Regions from separate parts of the Homo sapiens genome. Here region 2 is linked to region 1. Evidence: promoter capture Hi-C in 16 types of primary human blood cells and fetal thymus (Javierre and others, 2016). All regions are on one chromosome and are shown on one strand. Each heading gives the region's core, a stretch centred on a gene start or on the middle of the fragment in contact. The rest is flanking DNA. Distances are from core to core; before and after follow the strand shown.

Region 1 (3,247 bases), core at 669-3,168:
ACGCTCCACATGTGTATATAGGGCTGTGGTGCCTTTGGCCTCTTGTATCCACGCTTTAGAAAGCAGACTGAGGATCCTATTCAGGAAAATCCTGGACAAAGGAGGGGTACCGAGGGAACCTGAAGAGGGACCTGGAGACCCCACATTAGCTGATTTCTCATATGGTGGCTGAGCAAGTCTCTTTTTTTTTTTTTTTGGTTTTGTTTTGTTTTTGAGACAGAGTCTCACTCTGTTCCCTAGGCTCGAGCGCAGTGGCGCTGTCTCGGCTCACTGCAACCTCTGCCTCCCGAGTTCAAGCAATTTTCCTGCCTCAGCCTCCTGAGTAGCTGGGAATACAGGCATGTGCCACCACGCCCAGCTAATTATTGTTTTTTCTTTGAGACAGAGTCTCACTCTGTCACCCAGGCTGGAGTGCAATGGTGCGATCTCGGCTCACTGCAACCTTTCCACCTTCCGAGTTCAAGCAATTCTCTGCCTCATCCTCCTGAGTAGCTGGGATTACAGTCACCCGCCACCATGCCTGGCTAATTTTTATATTTTTAGTAGAGACGGGGTTTCACCATCTTGGCCACGCTGGTCTCGAACTCCTGACCTTGGGTGAACCACCTGCCTTGGCCTCCCAAAGTGCTGGGATTACAGGCATGAGCCACCATGCCCAGCCAATTTTTTGTGTGTTTTTAGTAGATGGGGTTTTGCCATGTTGGTCAGACTGGACTCGAACTCCTGACCTCAAGTGATCTGCTTGCCTCGGCCTTCCAAAGTGCTGGGATTGTATACAGGTGTGAGCCACTGCGCCCAGCCAAGTCTCAGCATTGATGGTAAAATGAGCTATAAACTTGGTAACTGGCTATCCCTAACTGCCTTCTCTTACTCATGCCAACTGCAGCATCTGCAACTCTGCTAAAGCCAGATCAACCCTGGAGGGCTCTGGGAGCACAATGTAGGCTGGAGTGACAGACCCCACACAGATATGCCAATCATAGGCCAAACAATGACGACCCCTTTCCACCTTCTCAGGAAGCAAGTCTGTCCACCAAGGTCTACCACCAACAGCCAAGAACAAAGGAAAAAGAAAAGGGCATCCACTTCCCCCAGAGGGGCAGAGACAGGTACCTTGCAAGGGGCTTGTGCCCGGTGAGCCAGGGTGCTTGGAGGGCAAAGGGGTAGGTGAAGGAGAGGTCCCAAGGTGGAGCAGCACCGTCCCAGCCAGGGGCCTTCAGGCTTGTGGCCACGCTGCAGTATTTGAGCAAAGGCATCCTGGGCCCCGTGGAGGATTCCATGGCCTTCAGAGGATCCACCTGAGAATAGGCACCACCATTACCTGAGCTGCAGCTTGAAGCAAGCAGTGGCCACCGGGGCGAGGCAGGGCTCAGCTCTGCAGTTAGCTGCCTCTGGGGACAGTTGAGTCCATGCACGGCCCTACCTGCTCCCACAAACTCTCACAGTTTCCTCTTTGAGTCACCTGCCTTGGGAACCTCCACTCAGGAAACAGGGAAGGGATTGGAAGAGCAAGTGCTGTGAGTTTAGAGCAGCCCAGCTTTAAATCCTCCCCTACAGCCTGCTGGCTGTGTGCTCACTTAACCTCTGCTCTCCAGTTACACTCAGGATAGAATACATGGAAAGCACCTGGCGTATTCAGCAGCTCAACTTATGTTAGTATTTTTCCTCCTTCCTCCTCCCCGGCCACCTACAAGGCTAGTTCTGGCCTCAGGCAAGCTGAGATCTCAGGGCCGTCCATCCCCTTTCCAGCCCTGTTCAGAGGAGACAGCTGCCACCAGGGCCCAAGATCAAGCCGCACTGCTGCAGCCCACCAGAGCCCCGTGAGGGTCTGCCCCTGCCCAAGTCCACAGGTCTGACCCCACAAGGACTTACCCACAGCCCCAAACTCCCAGCCTCCACCTCAGCCTCAGGCTCCTTCTGACAGTTGGGGCTCAGGGTCTCAGCCCAACCGACTCCTGGTTGCCACGCCGGTTACCATGGGTGCAGCCTGGGGACGCTGTCGTCTGTGGCCAGTGAGTGCACCGAGCATGCGGAGAGGGGGACAGGAGGCCTTGGGAGGTAGGGGTGGGGCAGGAAGTGATGGGGGAGGGGGTGTTCTCCAGGTTTCCCTTTGGAGAGAAGAGGAGGAGGAAGAAGGGAAAAAGGCCAGTGTAGCCTCAGTTCTCCAAAGCTCAGGCTGCTCCACTGCTGGAAGAGTCAGTGGTGGTGGGAAGCCCTCACGGATCCCAGGAGACTCCTGTGAGGGAGGAGCCACCTCCGCAGAAACTGAGGGCGTCCTCCCTGTACACACTAGAGGCAGGAATGGGGGAGCCACTGGCGGCCTGGGGACTCTAGGATAGAATTTGTCCCTAGTCTAAACCAAAATAACCAAAGGTGTGGGCCTGTTTGTCTATAACAGGCAGGACTCTGTTGAGGAGCAGAGGTGTTGTGACCATTTGGAGTGAGAGGTGTGGACACTGGCAACAAAGGAACAGAAGTCCAGATTCTGCTTGTGGGAGGGGCTCGTATTTGGAGGCCTCTGCCAGTCACTGTGCACTGGTTATATGCCTGGTATGCAGGCACGTTTGGATGTGTCTCCCCCACATTCATACCCCGCTTCTACCAGGTCCTGTTTCAGTTGGCAGATCCATGTGGATAGGGAGGCCAAAGTACCCACCTCCAGGGGTAGAGTGGGTGTCAGTCACCCCTTCCATCCCCGTCTGGCCCCAGGGGTTGGTCAGGCAGTGGCGTGTTCCTGAACCTCTCCAATCAGCAGGAATCTGGAGACTTTGGTTGGGAATCCTGGGATATAGGCTTTCTCTTTCTTCCTATGCCTGAATAAGAAAGCTGATAGTTCTGAGAGCCTCTGACAGCCTTTTGGGAACACTGAAGCTATTCCCAGAGAAAGAGAGGATAGACCTCAGGAAATAGAGGGTTGGTTGGTTTGTTTGTTTTGAGACAGGGTTGCCCAGGCTGGCCTCAAACTCCTGGGCTCAAGGGATGCTTTTGCCTCAGTCTTCCAAGGAGCTCGGACTACAGCCATGCACCCCAACGCCCAGCTGAAAATAGGTTCTCGGTGACAGTACTGAGTCCTGCCTGCAGGCAGTGCTGCTACTCTAGGCCTCAGCTCTGTGAGCCAATAATTCCCCTTATTGATTATGCCACTCTGGATTGGGCTGTTTCTTACTTGCAACCAAAAGCCTCTTAACTGATGACTGCCCTCCCGAAGCATCACTTCATAGTCAGGAGAATGACTGCTGCCCAGGAC
Region 2 (3,060 bases), core at 338-2,837, 600 kb after region 1:
CGAACTCCTGGGCTCAAGCAATCTGCCTGCCTCCACCTCCCAAAGTGTTGGGATTACAGGCATGGGCCACCATGCCCCGCTGAGACCTCATCATATCACCAGGCCTGGCTGCACATAGGATTTGAAATTCAAAAAAGAAAAAGAAATTGCATTGCATTATTCTCCCCTGCAGGAAATTGTTTTGTTCTCTTAATGTTTGAGTTAGCAGTAGTATTTTAACAATCCCAAGTGTCAGAATTACAGAGAGAAGTTTCACTTCTGGCATATAACATTTCTTTGGCATTTTCTTGACTGTGGCTTTTGAATTGTTAGCGTTTGATGTGTGTGTTCCTGTTTCAGCTTGGAGAACAGCCATCTCTGGAAGAAGCCATCAGAATAGCGTCTAGAATCCAACAAGGAGAAACGCCAGGGTTGGATGATTAATCCTCAGAACAATGGAGCAATAAAGCAGAAGGAGTCTTTCATCTTCTGGCAGCAGAAATCCATGAAGCCCGGGCCCAGGAAAATTAGAAGTTTTCCATTCCTGATACACTGTACACATTTTTATGCGAGAGTGGAGAACATTTTATTCTTGACACTTTTGTGTATATAACCCTTGGAATAGATTCTCAGAGTGATTCATTGTGTACAAGGAAGTATGAAATTAGGGCAATACAGTAAATTTTCATGTTACTCTTTTATCAGATCACAAACTCCTAGAGTCTACATGCAAGACTAGTAAAGTCTTATGGAGTCTTATGATGGATTTTTAACTTCCCGTGGAAAAAAAAATAAAGGCTGTATCTAAAATATCAAAGGTTCTATATGTCACACAATCGTAATTCCAAAAGCCATTATGGATAATAAAGGGTGTAAAGCCTTCAGATATTTCCCCAGTTAGTAGAGTGTCTGCGGTTTTTGTTCTACTATATGCTTGTCCATTTTTATTTGTATCTCATGGTTTGCAGACTGTTTGAATAATTTATAGTTTCCCATCCCTGTTAAAAACCAGCTCTTCAAGCTGAAATGCTAATTATATTGGCATTACATTGAATTATGTACAAAATTATAAAATTTGGTTATTTAAAATTAAAAAGTTAAATCCAGTGGTTTTGTTAAAGATTTTGCTTAGTATTCAATTTTTATTACTGTTTTTTAAAAATAATGAATCATCAAAGTTTAACCACAGGCTGGTGCCCGGGATAACAGTACTGTAATTGGAAATGGCTTTACTCTGAAAATTAGGTTAGTGGGTTGGTGTAAATTATTTATTTTTGCTTATGTACTTTTGTTTTAAAGCTTATTTACCCCAAAGTTTATTATTAATTTTGAATACAGCAATTTTTAAAATGTTACTTTTATATTTATTTATTTATCATATTGGTGGGGGGTTGGGGGGAAATGGTGCAGAAAATATCGCAAATGTAATGGAATGTAACCTAATACACATATTGAAAGGATGTTGTTTATCAAGTACAGAGTAAGTGCTTTTCCATATATTTTTATATATTCACAACAATTTTGTGAGACATATGGGATTTACTACCTCCGTTTTTTACATGAGGAAACCAAGAGTCCAGGAGGGAGGCTGACTGTCGTACCAGCCCTCACAGCTATGGAGAGGCAGGACCAAGACGAGAACCCAGACTTTCTGGCTCCAAGTCTAGTGTGTTTTCACTGCACCACAGTTACCTCCTCAAATGCTCATTTGTGGCAGAGATTATCAAGATGAACTTTGGTGATTTCTGATTGCCTAATGAATTGAGCAGTATAAAAACCATTTTCTAATGCTGGAAAATCAGCGTTCACCAAGGTCAAAAAAAAAAAAAAAAAGATGGTGTGTTCCGCAGCAGCCCCTCCTGCACTGTAGTTCAGCGAGCTTTATTTGCAGAGAGCTGAAATGTGGCTTTTTCATTTCAAGCTTTACAGTAGAAAGGGGAAAACGTTGTGCTGTTTGATTTTACATAAATGTTATCTTTGATCAGGTTCTATGATCTTGCTAAAAAGGATGGTGACTTACTTGAAATCGGAAGCCCTTCAGGGTTGGGCAGAACTTTTCCTGCAGAACCCTTTACAGATGCATAACATTAGCAAAAGCCCTAGTCAACCACCGATCGAGTCTTCATTCTTGACAGAGACACAGACCCACACAGAACTCCCCCCGGAAGCCCACTGAGGCTCAGAAAGGGGCTGTTGGGCGGGGTAGAAGACCAGAATCTGCAAAATCGCAGGCAGGGTGGCGCCCAGCCTCCCAGTGCTGGTCCTGGCTGCTGGCCAGGAGCTCCTCCCCACTGGGCCCAGCCAGGCTGCTGTACTTCCCAGGACCAAAAACCAAGCTGTCAGCCTCCCATGGCCCCTTAGATCTGACTTTGCTCAAATTCCAGGGTGTTTCTCTTTACTCCCAGCACCTTTGCCAGTTGGATTGGGCAGGGCTTAACCTGGACTGTTTTGGTTAGCCTGATTATCCCTCAGCTCAAAAGAAAATGACCTCTGGCACCCAGAGAAAAGGGCCTAGGGTCGCTGCTAGTTTAACCTGACCTGCCTTCTTGGGAATGGGGCCTCAGGAGCCTGGCAAGGTGGCCTGTTTCCTCCAGGGGAAGGGTGCAGTTGGTGTGCTGACAATTGCTAGGAAAGCTGCTATAGGGTCTCTTCACAGTGCAGGACATGGAAACGTCCAAGGTTGAAAAATCCCAAAAAGACACTTGAAATAAGAGTAAACGCTAGCAAACAGAACCAGGTGGGGCATAACCCTCTGGAATTTGATCCAGACAGTGCTCAAGGAAAACCTCTCCGTCCAAAAAAACCACCCTGCTTTGCCCCAGACAAAGCTTGAGGCCACTACAAAGAAAATGTGCCCTAGTCTGAACTCAAAAGAACTTAGAGTTAAGGGAGGGACGAGGCTTTCTTAATTCTCTAGAGGTGACAGCTGCCCAGAGAGCCAGATCTCTCCTTCCCCTCCTACCCACCCCCAGGCCTTCAGGGCAAACTAACTTTGTACAGTGTCTCTTGCTTGCTGCTTGCCTTCCCGTGTGACAGCCCTGGGGCTAGGTAAGCAACTTGGGAAACTGTGGTCTCAGTGCT

What was found. Contacts are between HindIII fragments. The CHiCAGO score rates a contact against its expected background, and 5 or more counts as called.
Region 2: a fragment that was not itself captured here is called in contact with the fragment with the promoter of C11orf16 in region 1 in 1 of 17 cell types (fetal thymus); the score reaches 5.3 in fetal thymus.

The regions. Positions count from the first base shown.
Region 1 is chr11:8,931,029-8,934,275 of GRCh38, forward strand. C11orf16 (chromosome 11 open reading frame 16) reads right to left here and starts at 1,919. Exons shown (of 7, transcript NM_020643.3): 1 at 1,873-1,919; 2 at 1,114-1,298. The coding sequence starts at 1,280. RefSeq lists an enhancer at 1,538-2,376. The HindIII fragment of the contact is 4,544 bases long and covers 1-3,247 here.
Region 2 is chr11:9,527,191-9,530,250 of GRCh38, forward strand. It overlaps ZNF143 (zinc finger protein 143), which reads left to right. Exons shown (of 16, transcript NM_003442.6): 16 at 340-1,334. The coding sequence ends at 423. Among named protein-coding and RNA genes, the nearest start is that of WEE1, 45 kb to the right of the region's middle. RefSeq lists an enhancer at 2,466-3,060. The HindIII fragment of the contact is 622 bases long and covers 1,277-1,898 here.